Linked DNA regions of Homo sapiens: regions 2 and 3 are each linked to region 1. Evidence: promoter capture Hi-C in 16 types of primary human blood cells and fetal thymus (Javierre and others, 2016). All regions are on one chromosome and are shown on one strand. Each heading gives the region's core, a stretch centred on a gene start or on the middle of the fragment in contact. The rest is flanking DNA. Distances are from core to core; before and after follow the strand shown.

The links. The method cuts DNA at HindIII sites, captures the fragments that hold promoters and counts their contacts. A CHiCAGO score of 5 or more calls a contact.
Region 2: a contact is called between a fragment that was not itself captured here and the fragment with the promoter of CDC16 in region 1, in 1 of 17 cell types (endothelial precursors). The highest score is 5.8, in endothelial precursors.
Region 3: a fragment that was not itself captured here is called in contact with the fragment with the promoter of CDC16 in region 1 in 1 of 17 cell types (M1 macrophages); the score reaches 5.8 in M1 macrophages.

What each region holds. Positions count from the first base shown.
Region 1 is chr13:114,233,071-114,237,302 of GRCh38, reverse strand. CDC16 (cell division cycle 16) reads right to left here and starts at 2,406. Exons shown (of 18, transcript NM_001078645.3): 1 at 2,171-2,406; 2 at 604-658; 3 at 407-504. The coding sequence starts at 2,218. RefSeq lists a silencer at 2,088-2,447 and an enhancer at 2,558-2,607. The HindIII fragment of the contact is 7,021 bases long and covers 1,142-4,232 here.
Region 2 is chr13:113,918,745-113,922,616 of GRCh38, reverse strand. LINC00452 (long intergenic non-protein coding RNA 452) reads right to left here. Exons shown (of 8, transcript NR_164112.1): 6 at 2,963-3,182; 7 at 1,697-1,894; 8 at 1,300-1,567. Among named protein-coding and RNA genes, the nearest start is that of SWINGN, 8.3 kb to the left of the region's middle. RefSeq lists an enhancer at 2,009-2,893. The HindIII fragment of the contact is 3,996 bases long and covers 1-3,304 here.
Region 3 is chr13:113,765,335-113,769,331 of GRCh38, reverse strand. It overlaps TMEM255B (transmembrane protein 255B), which reads right to left. Exons shown (of 9, transcript NM_182614.4): 2 at 3,075-3,217; 3 at 172-234. Among named protein-coding and RNA genes, the nearest start is that of TMEM255B, 8.1 kb to the right of the region's middle. The HindIII fragment of the contact is 184 bases long and covers 1,821-2,004 here.

The sequences.
Region 1 (4,232 bases), core at 1,157-3,656:
AAAGAAAAATTGCATCAAGTTAAATAATTTCAACAGAAATGGAATATACACCTAAAACCCTAATGACTTTTTTTTTTTTTGAGACAGAGTCTTGCTCTGTTGTCCAGGCTGGAGTGCAATGCACGAACTCAGCTCACTGCAACCTCCACCTCCCAGGTTCAAGTAATTCTCTGCCTCAGCCTCCCGAGTAGCTGGGATTACAGGCGCCTGCCACCACGTCCGGCTAATTTTTGTATTTTTAGCGGAGATGGGGTTTCACCATCTTGGTCTTGAGCTCCTGACCTCATGATCCACCTGCCTTGGCTTTCCAAAGCGCTGGGATTACAGGTGTAAGCCACCGCGCCCGGCCACTAATGACATTTTTTTTAAAGCTCTGAAGAGCTTTAAAGTTCATACCATCACTTACTTTGTCCAGTTTTCGTGACCGAAGTGCATGGGCGGCTCTGTGATATTGTGCTGTCAGGTAAAGACACTGAGCCAACCAATAGATGTCCTGGGGTTCTTCTGGAGGGAAAAATTCACATAAGTGGTCAGAGGTACAAGGTGAAATAGAAAACGAATTTTAAGATTAATCAGAAAACCAGTTAGCATTTTGTCACTTACCACGAGAGAGTGAAGCTACTTTATCTGCCCAAAATAGAGCACTTTGATACTGTTGCTGCATACCAAAAAAAAAAAAAGGTGGTAACTGCCCTGTTATTTTAATAGTCTTAAACAGTTATCTAATATTATTATAATTCTATGTAATATATTAATATAATTCTATGTAATAAATCTTCATCTCAAGACAACAATTTGTTACATCTCTATCTTACATCTCACGTAGGGTAAATTTTAGTTCAGTGTCGCAATACAAACATTCCTGTAATATCTTTGTATATGCAACTTATGAAGGTAATTTTTTAAAACTCATACACTGTAAAAATGTATCGTGAAACATACAAGTGAAATGCAAGTGAAACAGCAAAAGCTAGTCATTAACAATTCATGTGTGATTTATATAACACTTTCAACGAGCTGTTAATGAATCCCAAAGTGAAATTTAGAAGACAGAACACTATACTCAAATACCTTATATAACACAGTGGCAGTTTTAATAACACTCAAGTTTAAAAACACACACACATAAATTAACTAAGCTTCACTGAACATGGGGAAGAACTCACCTCCTCCAAGTCTAACAAAAATGAAGGAGCCGACAATGAGGGCCACCCACAGTGACCTACGGCTAGCTTTAGACCCTGTTCTGCTCCTCAGTCCTCAGTCTTCTACAGTCTCTGCCTCAGTTCCCCTGGAGACAAGCCAGGACCACTGCTGCTAGCCCGAGGCAGGAGGAATGCCAACGGGATAGTTATAAATATGCTCAATACCGGTGTCTCTGGCTGGAAACCGGGCCTGTCATATTCCTCACTACGTCTCCGTACCGAAGAAAAAGTGATCAGAAAACACTGAATTCAACTGACTCATGGTAAATAAAAACACAGCCCTCCAAATGGACTGCAAACATTTGGCCACGTCAGTTAGCACCCAATTCCGAAAACTCTGCATTACCATGGCTTTTCTTTCCCTTTCTTTCCAATTTCCTGAAAGAGCAAGCATTTCAACAAAAAATAAACAACAATATAGATAAAACTGATGCTGCTGATTCTCGAAGACACTTCTTGCCTTAAACGCTCTCTGCTATTCAAAGGTAGTGCAGAGAACACAGACATAGTTAACGAGAATTTTTAAAGTATTGATTTGAGACAACAGGCTTCTTCACATCTTTATTCACTTAAATTCAGCCCAGTAAAAATTACAACTAAACCTCTCAAAAATGTTTTATTAGCTAGCCCTGCAACTTTCCTCCAAAAATTGTCCTTCAACTTGCACTGAGTAGTCAGTGTTTCCTGGGCACCTCCTCCGCGCCAGGTGCAGAACGAGGCTCAGACCCGACTGAGGCGCCCCGTGCGCTCGGGGGCCTCCACTCCCCGGGCTGTGCCCCTCCCAGCTGCAGGGACCGCTCCCTTCTGGGCGAGGCGGAGACAGCGCTGCTGGCCCCAGATGAAGGCCCAGGGCCGGCCCAGTCCTTCCCCACCAAGAGCCCCGACAACAGTCACCCCAGCCCCACGCCGCGCGGAAAAAGACCCGGCGAGGCCTGGGCCCCGCACCCCGAGTCGGGGCCGCCCACCTGGTCGAGGTACTGCCGGACGCGCTTCCGCAGCCGCTCTAGGTTCATGGCGGCGCGGGCCCGGCCTCACGCCACACTCCGCCGCTAGGCGCGCGCCTCCTGCACCCTAAGCACCCCGCCCCGTGCCCGTGCCCGTGCCTGCAGCCGCCGCCGCCGCCCCAGGACTCGAAGGCCGCGGACTCGAAGGCCGCAGGTCCCCACCCACACCCGCACCCCCCACCCAGGCCCCGTGCACTGCCCAGGCTCTTCCGCTCCAGGCAGGCCCCGCCCCGGAAGTCCACAGCAAACGAATCCCATCTGGCGCGGGAAAACGGACCCGAGTTGTTGGTTCCGATGCCTCTCCTGGCACGTGGGCTTCTGGTTGCCTTGGGGCGAGAGCGCGGCCTCCCTGGAATCGCTGCGGCGCCTCTGGGCATTGGCGAGAGAGTCAGGAGGGCTCGGGGCCGGACCACCCACCCGGGCAAAAAAGCAGGTGGCTGCTGAGCCTTCTTTCCCCAGAATGTAGTCAACATTTTAAAAATAAGAGCAACGCACTCTCATTACAAAAAAAAAAAATTGTGTGCACAAACAGCAAATGAAGTCAAAGACAACCTAGGGAAAAATTTGAAACCTATCACAAAATTCGAATTTCCTTATAATGTAGAGCCAATATTCCCTTTACATATATGTAATAAGTCAGTGGGAAGAGACCAATGGCTCAGGAGAAAGACAGGCAAAAAACAGTTCACAGGGAAAGAAATGCAAATAGACTTTAACATACGAAAGAAAGTCCAACTTAATTCATAATAAAAATTAAAATTAGAGTACCACTTTTCATATGTTAACAAAGATCACAAAGGTTGATGACACTGCTAGCAGGAATGTCGGGAAGCAGGCACCCTCAAGTTTTGTGAGTGGTATTGGTATACTCTCTAGGATGAACGAATTGGAATATCTTCCAAATTTAAAGGTGTTCGTGCTGTTAAACCTAATGATTTTTATTTTGGGAAATATACCATGGATTTGCATTTTTGCATGTGTGCAAAATGACCTGTGGTTTCGTTTGTAATAGCAAAAGATTGCAGACAATTTAAACACCCATGAAGTATGGAACTGAGTAAATAGGTCATGATACGCTCACGTAATGGAATACTCGCTGGCTGTTCAAAAGAACAGTCAGCTTTGCATGGACATTGAACGATCTTCAAGATATAGTATGTGGGAAAAAGCAAGTATAGGATCGTGTTTATCGTATGCCTGCATTTGAGTAAAATACGAATTTAATGATAGGTAGAAAAATCCCTAAACTGTCCCAGGAAGGAAAAATGAGAAAACCGGCATAGCGCAAGGCCTCTGGAAGGAGTGCTGGAAGATGAGAGATGGTAGAAGTGGGAGAGGTACTTCCTTGGATATCTTTTTGTGCTTTTGAATTTCAGTCAATGTGCATATATTACCTTTTGTGAAATTAAATCATTCAAACTTAAAATAATTTAAACTTGAAGCTGTTGGAACTTTGAATTACCTGAGCCTTGAGGGGAATGTGGCTACGCGGCCTAGGTCATGCCACACCCAGCTGTAACTTCTGCCTTTTTCCCTGTAAACAATAAAGACCAAATGGCACCGGAGATAAGACCCCCTCAGATCACTACCCCTCCTCATGGAGTTATAACGCAATCTTCCTTCAAATACAGAGATCCCTAACCAATGGAACCGCTGCGGCGTGTGCCCCTGGTCTCATATGAGAACTGTGGTGATCCTGCTGGAGCTTCTGTCTCCGCCTGGTAAGAGAGACCTGAGCTCCACTTGGAAAGGCTGACCCCATTTGTCCAGGTGGCCATTCTCAGGCTCTGTGCTCAAATACACACTATATGTAATCATATTTCTGAATCTCAATATTAAGGTTGACACTTTTAAAAAGTAAATATAACTTTTATAAATATAAAAACCTAAAAGAGTAAAAAAAATTCAAAGAAGCAAAAAAAAAAAAACTTGCTGTAAAGAATCCCACCCACTCAAAAATTCTCTCACGCTACTGTAAGTAATCTGCCGTGTAATTTTCTATGTGTGTGTATACATATATGAC
Region 2 (3,872 bases), core at 57-2,556, 310 kb after region 1:
TGAGCCCTGGTCTGTGGTGCGCTGTTATGGGCGGGACCCCTGTAAGCCCAGAGTCAGCGCTTGCTGCATCCCTGCTCTCAGAGGCGTGTGGCAGTTGCCTTTCCCTGTGGAGGGTTGGGTGAGATTGCCCTTGCACTGACAGCAACTGAAGGACGATTGAGGGCCCTAGATCTCTGGGTGCAGGGCACCTGGTGAAACGACCCGCCACACATGACTGATTTTCAGCCAAAGATCACTTGTAGCTTACCAAATATGCCAGACCAAAAACTAAAACCAAAAGTTGACAGAGAATCTTCATTTTACAAATGGAGAAATCAGAGCATCCTAATGGTGAGCAACTTGTTTAAAAAGGAAAATTCTGTATGGCTGTGGATCTGCGGCTGCTGTCAAAGGGTTGCTTTCAGTAACTTGCCAATAACGGTGGAGCTGTTGTGCTTGCTTCCTAGCCAGAGATCGTGTCAAATAAAATAACCCTAATTTTGGAATTAGATAGGTTGAGTTCAATTCCTAGCTCCTGAAAAATGATTTTGAACTTAGAAATTGGTTCCAGCAATATTATGAGTCAAGTATGAAGGTAGAATAAAGATGTTTTGTGGCATTCAACCTTCCAAAACATTTACCTGTTTAAACTTATTTTAGAAAGTTACTTGAGGATGTGCTCCAGCAAAATGAAGGAGAAAATAAAGAGGAAGACCTGGGATCCAACACATAGTGGATTCAACTGAGAAAAGTTGTGGAGGGAAGTCCCAGGAGGAGAGCTGCACACTGGATCTGAGAGAGTAGCACAATGTAGGCTGCACATGGGGCTCATCCTGAGGAGACCTCCTGGCATAATGGAGCACTGGGGGTGAAGGCAGATAGAAGATAGTCGGGAGACTATGAACACACATGAGAATGTGTTGTGAGAAAAAAAGTCAAAACTATCAGGGTGGGCGAAGGGCAGGGGGAAGCTGTTGATGGAATGAAAAATAACCATCATGCTTTGTTTGGCTCAGTCATAAGCAATATTTACTTAGTCATGAAAATGTAAATACTAACTATGGATTTAACTAAAAATAGAGATATAATTATAGTGTGGATGTGGAAGTAGGGGAGATGGAGCTAAAATACCTGTCCAGCAGGAAATAAACAGATAATGTCTAAAATGGGTAAGTCAAGCAACAAAAATAGAGGCATATGATTTTGTGATAAAACAGTCATGACCAGAAGGAACAGCTTTAACAGGGACAAGTAGTTGCTTTTGCAAAAAGAGAATTAGGACGTGGCTGGGTGGGAGGCAAGTAACTGTCAGCTCCAGGGTCCACATCTGGTCCTGCTTTATTCCACAGTTCAAGTGTATTGTGTAAAGATCGATATTTTAATTAAAGTGTAATAAGGTGAGATAATTAAATAGTAAAAATAAATAAATAAATAAAACAAAGCTGCCCATTCCCTTACCTTGTTGCTGAGCTTCCCACAGCCCCCAGGCCCTACCCCGAGGGCTTCCTGCAGGACAGTGCACATTGCAGCTGCTGCAGCAGGAACGGGATGCACTGGTCACTCACAAACCACAAAGCGGAACTGGAAGCTAGTGGAGTGGGGGAAATATTTGCAGTAAATATGACACAAAGATTAATAGCTACTTATAGATTTCACATCTATTAAGGTTCATCTGTAAAATCACTGTAGTTGGGGTTTGGAACACAGAGAAACTCACACATGAAGCAGCACTGAATACACGGGAAAGACACGGTCACATGCACAGGGCACACAGGAGCGATGCAGTGGGCACAGGTCACCACGCATGGCCCAGGAGATGCAAGGAAGCGGAGCACCACTCTGTCCACTCAGATGCCCAGCTCTGCACTCAGCAGCCACGGCGAAGAGGGCAGCCTCGGAAGCGATCTGACAAAACCTAGGGGTGAATACAGGAGTTCACACCTTTGACCCACTCTCCCACTAGAAAGTAATGACAGGAGGAATGATGAGGCTCTGGGTGGCAAATGCATAACAGGAGACAATCCAACTATCTAGCAATGAGGCATTAAGTAGATCAAGGCACATCTATTTGTGGCTTATGAGTTACTGGGTGGATGTGGGGTGGACACAGGGAGCCCAGTAGGCCACAGCCCCCATCCTCCATTCCCACCACGCCTCACAGCTCCCTCCTCACTTGGGTGGACCTTGTACAGTTCTACCATCCAGCAGCCATGTAAGTATCTGCCAGATTAAATTCCACATCCACTGAAGGATGAAGAGAGCAGACAAGACTTTAAGCAGATTTCCCCCTCTAGCCTCTCTGTGAGCTCCATCTGCAGGCGCTGCCTGTAGGGCCTGACATACTCAGGGCCCAGCACACATGGGGCCTGGCACACACACGGTCTGGCACACACAGGCCCAGCACACATGGGGCCCAGCACACTCAGGGCCTGGCACACACACGGTCTGGCACACACAGGCCCAGCACACATGGGGCCCAGCACACTCAGGGCCTGGCACACACACGGTCTGGCACACACAGGCCCAGCACACTCAGGGCATGGCACACTCAGGGCCTGGCACACACAGGGTCCAGCACACACAGGGTCCAGCACACTCAGGGTCTGGCACACTCAGGGCACAGCACACTTAGGGCATGACACACACAGGGCACAGCACACTCGGGGTCTGGCACACTCAGTGCCTGGCACACTGGGGGCACAACACACACAGTGCACGGCACACTTGGGGCCTGGCACACACTCAGGCCCGGCACACTCAGGATCTGGCACACTCAGGGGCTCCGGGGCTCCAGGGCTCCAGGATATTAATGCTGGTGCCTGGAGTTCTCAGAGGTGTCTAGGGGCACAGAAGAGGCACTGGCTGGGCCTCCTGGACAGGGTGAGGGTGGGGCGTCACATTCTATTTCGAAAATAAGGAGTGTTTTTAAAAAGCAGTAAAACCCATAAAAGGAAACTCCTCAGAGCCACATCTTGAGGTTTACCTGGACATGAACCCGTTTGCCTCTTTGGAGTTTCCAGGTGCTGGGCCCAAGCCCTCTGTGCAGGCCCCAGAGCAGCGGCTGGGAATTCGGAGGGTGTGGAGGGCATCCTGAGGCAGGGGGATCCGGGCGGGCAGCACAGGGCCTGCGGGGGCGTCGAGCTTCACAGTGGACAAATCCTGCCAGCCTGGCACGTGGCCTCCAGCCTGGGGCCCGACACCTGCTGGACGATGGAGGGTGGAAAAGGAAGGCCCACGGTGACATGTGGAATTTTAAACAGGTTTTCCTGGTTTGAGGGAGCCGTCACGTCTGCTCCTGGCATGGGATCACTTTGCTGTGGAAGCTTGGATGCCGGTGCTTGCAGGCCAGGCTTCTGCCAGGAGCCCTTCAACCCACACTTCGGGCTGTGGCCCCGGGGGCTGTAGGGGGTCAGCCGCCGGGGCCTCTGGTTGACTCAGAGGCTGGTGGGGGCTCCTAGCAGAAGCTCCGAGACCTCCACCTTATAACCCAATGGGTCGCAGGGCTGCGCGGCAGCTGTGGGCTGGGCTGGGCTCATACTTGGTCCTACAAGTGAAGCCACTTTGGGGACCAGCTTCTGGGCCCAAGTCCAACCACAAAGAGGAGATGAAACTGATGCATTTCTAAATGCTTCAGCTTGGCAGCAATACAAATATTTGGGAAATCTTTGACATTTACCGAGCACCTACTATGGACAGAGAACTCAACAAGCACTTTCCAGGCGTTCTCCTCAATGATCCTGACCGTCGCTGCGGGCTCTTGTCCTTGGGACCTTAGGCAGCCGCCTTGCTCACCCAGAGCACGGAAGAGTTGAGATCAGAACCTGCTCCCCGCCCACCCTCCAAGCCTCGCTCTGCACTCCCCATCACAGGGCTGGACACGGGGAACACCTGGG
Region 3 (3,997 bases), core at 663-3,162, 470 kb after region 1:
CTGAACCCTGTATCCAGGACTGTGCAGGCCACAGCCCGGGAACCTCAGAGCTGGTCCTGTAGACACCAGTGTGCTGGGGAGGCAGGGCTGACTCTTCTCAGAGCCCCAGTGCAGCTGTACCATCCCCTGATGAGGGACTCATGCTCCCCACCACCCCATGTACTTTCTTACCATTTGCCTTCTATTCTCCACCAAGTTGATGCCAATAATTCCTAAGAAAGATCCAAAGCCGAGCTAAAACCAAAGGAAGAACGAGAGAGAAACACTCATTAACGTGCCTAGAAGCTTAACACTGACATTTAAAGCAAATAATCCCGCCCTCAAAGGCATTTTATCCAGGGACGAAGGCCAGACATCCCTACCTCAAGAACCTCAACCACTGAGCAGCAGGTGCGTCTGCTGGCGTTGGGCAGGCATCTCTGCAACATCACCTGTCCTGTCTTCTCTGCTCAGAGGTTTTTAATGATGCATCTGTTTGGCTTGTGACTCTGGGGTAAGAGAAGTTCCCACTCCTCCCCCAGAGACAACATCTTTTCGGGAACCCAGGGCCACCAAGCACCACCATCTGTCCCGTCTTCTCCAGGCCTGAGATGCCCCTGAGCATGGCTCCTGGGTAAGGTATTAGGGAACTACAGCCGTGTTTCAAAAGAAGGGTTGCCAGGCACAAGGGCCACCAGTGACCCCTGCTCAGACGGCCTAACTCTGGTTGCTGCTTCGGGAGAGTGAGCAGGGCAGACCGTTAGCAGGGAGGTGCCAGGTGTGGGGAAAGGGCACCTGAGCCAGGCACAGAGGGGGCACCTGGGCCAGGCACAGAGGGGGCCCCGGGCTGCAGCACAGGCCACCAGGGGTCCGGCAGAGCCCCCTTACTCCACAGGAAGCCCCAGCTCTGGGCAGAAAATGATACTGGGATGTCGGGAAATAGACATGGGACTGTGCTGTCTTAGAACAGAGGCCACCGGCCGGGCATCCGCACCCTCCACCCAGGGCCCGTCCTGGCAGGTGACGCCCACCTGGCAGAGGAATTTTTAAAATCAGTGTGAAGAACATGCATTTCAGCAACACCCACCGAAAATCTGGCTCAGAGCAGCCAACATGGACCTGCCAACGACCGTGCCGAGGCCTAAGACGGCTCTTGCTCCCACGCAGGTGCGCCGGGCCGGTCGCACTTCCCAGTGAGTGTCTGTTGGAAGGGGTGGCCCGCCCGGCACAGCCTTGGAGTTGCTGGGGCCGTGGTGTCAAGTTTAATGCACTGGAAACCGGACTTCTTTATGTAAATAGTTTTGCCTTTTCTGTAATTGTCTGTGTGTCTGTGGTGATAGACACGTACACATGTGGCTTTCACCAACGGTTTGAGAATTCTCCAGGGATAACAGGAATATTTCTTCATGTGCTGAGCTTCAAAATACTGCAGTTCAACTCCACACGTCAAAAATATCAAAATTTCACTTCGATATACATGTATTAAAATACATCTGTTACACTACGTTTTATTTTTTGGGGATTTGAAAAAAACCACACCTTTCTTGAAAATGTGGAGATGTTTTCACGTTCTGGCCGCTTCTTCTGAGATCAGCTTCTTAAGTCTCTACATTGGCAGAAAGTCTCCACAGAAGTGACTCTTAGCCACGTTTCCTTGAAGCTGCTTTTATTTGTTGTCTCCCTAGTTTGCTTTCAGAACTGTCTGTACTACAGGCCATTTCAATCTGGTCAGCACAGCATTAATTCATTGCCCAGAAGGTAGATTCTTTACAGAGCATAGCTTGGGCATTAGCCATTGATGTTTTTCATTATGTTATTCTGAGGCAGCTCTTAAATAAGCTTGAGGACAAACCAAAAAAAACAACCACTCAAGGCTGATCTTGATGTTTCGCAAATCACTTGGAGGTCCCTCCTCACAGCCACTTGCCCTCTGGGCTCCCCTTTCTGCCCAGGAAGCAGAAAAGCCCCTCACATGAGGCCAAGGTCCCCACACCATTGGCCTCTTGCAATTTTACTGATAAAGCTTTTTCTGCATAGATACTATTTGTATATGTTTATTCATAAACTATACACAGGTAGATAGTGTAGATGTCTAAGGCACACCCTAAGATATAAACAAAGGAAAATATAATGGTGAAATAAACAGTATTTGTAAAATATTTCTAAATACTTAGGGCCAAAAATCTTTCATCTTTGCTGATTGTCATCAATATTATTACCAATCTTGGTAGTACTTTAGGTGAGAGTAATGAGATTGAAGAAGCCGCATTTTAAAATCTTGCTTTAGCACTTTATGACGTAGCAACCAGGCTCTGGGGCATGTGAAGGGCATCGCAGCTGATCCAAGCCATTCCAACAGAGGTTCACTGTGCAGAATGCAGGCACTTAGGAGAATTCTTTTACTAACGACAGAGGATGTAATTTCATAGTTCAAAAAACCTTGATACTTTTGAATCTGGGTGACCAATTCTTGCCAATTAGGTTACCATCAATTTACCTCGCCGCCTTACTGTTCAAAATCTGGCCTGACGGGTGGATGAGGTCAGCACCACCACCTTCTGGCCGTTCCCACGCGATCACGTCACTAATACGATCTTTGACCCACGGCTTCTTGGTAGGAATCGTTTAAAGTTACTTTCCCCTTCCATGGGCTATGGTGGTCGACCTGGTCCCTCAGGGTAAAATCCTTCCAGGATGCTTGGGGAGGCTCTGTCCGGCCTTTTTGGACATCCTGGGCTCCTGGCCCCTCCTCCACCTTGGACATTTCCTGTTGCCGGGCTCTGGCCCCCCTCCTGCCCTCTGGTCACCCTGTGACCACATCGGGCCAACCCAGACAATGGAGGGCACCTGGCCCTATTTTGAGATCAACTTGGACCTCAACCCCAATTCCCCTCTGCCTTGGACCTGCCACTGTCCCAGGTCCTGGGGATTGGGAAGTGCATGTCTGTGGGGGCCATAACCCTGCCGACCACAAGCACTGATCGAAGCCTCCCCACCTTCAGCCCCAGCCCTGTGAGCTGGCGTGGACTCCACCCTGAGAGAGCCACACACCACCCTGCCCTCCCCGGCCCAGGCCGCCCGCCCGGCGCACTCACAATGATCCCTGGGTAGTAGCCCCCAACGGTCACATTCTCCGTCCTGGTGGTGGCAGCCAGCCCGACGGTGACTATGAGGACGGACACCAGCAGCAGAGACCCCACAAACCAGAGCGACGTCTTCTTCCTCCTCGAAAGCCCTTCTGTGGGGAGGAAGGCGAGGACCTGTCAGTGAGGGCTCAGGCTCAGGAGGGCGTCAGGCCAGCAGGCTCTGGGCCGTGCTCCGTTACCCAGGGGTCCTGGGATGCACTATCCCCGCCTGCCTCCAGGCCCACCTCAGGGGACCACCCCCAACCTCCATTAGATAACAGAATAAAATCTCTGGACCATAAGCCACTATACTGGATAGCCTGGTATTTGCGGCCAAACCTAATTCTAACTGTCACAGAACTCAAGAAAGCAAACTAGAAAGGACTCCTTCCTATTGGCTGCCTCTTCCTCTATCTGACTTTCTCCCCCTGGTGTCCCCAGGAGGACAGGAGCATCTTTTGTTTACTGTTTTATCATTACCATTCGCTCACAGACACACCCTCTCTATCCGCCTATCCCAGCCACACCCAGTGGGGGAGGGGGCTGCCACCAGGGGAGGGGCAGGGAGAGAGGAACGCACACAGCAGCCATCCAGCTGTGCCATCTGTTTTGCTTTATTTTTTGAAAACTGAATCATCTTGATCCCTGTGTGACTCCAAACAAAATAGGGGATTTAAAAAACCATGGTAAGGTCTTCCTACTCCAAGAGTTTGAAAATCAACATTTGTGTGTGTGCACATGTGTAAGTGCGTGTGTGCAGGGAAAGCAGACCGCACACTGGAGAGCCGCTGGCAGCGATGACGGCCGTGCAGACATTGTCCACACCCTAGAAGGTCCGCATCTGAAGATTTACACTTCTGCAATCCCATCAGCAGAGCTCAATGGCAAGGCAA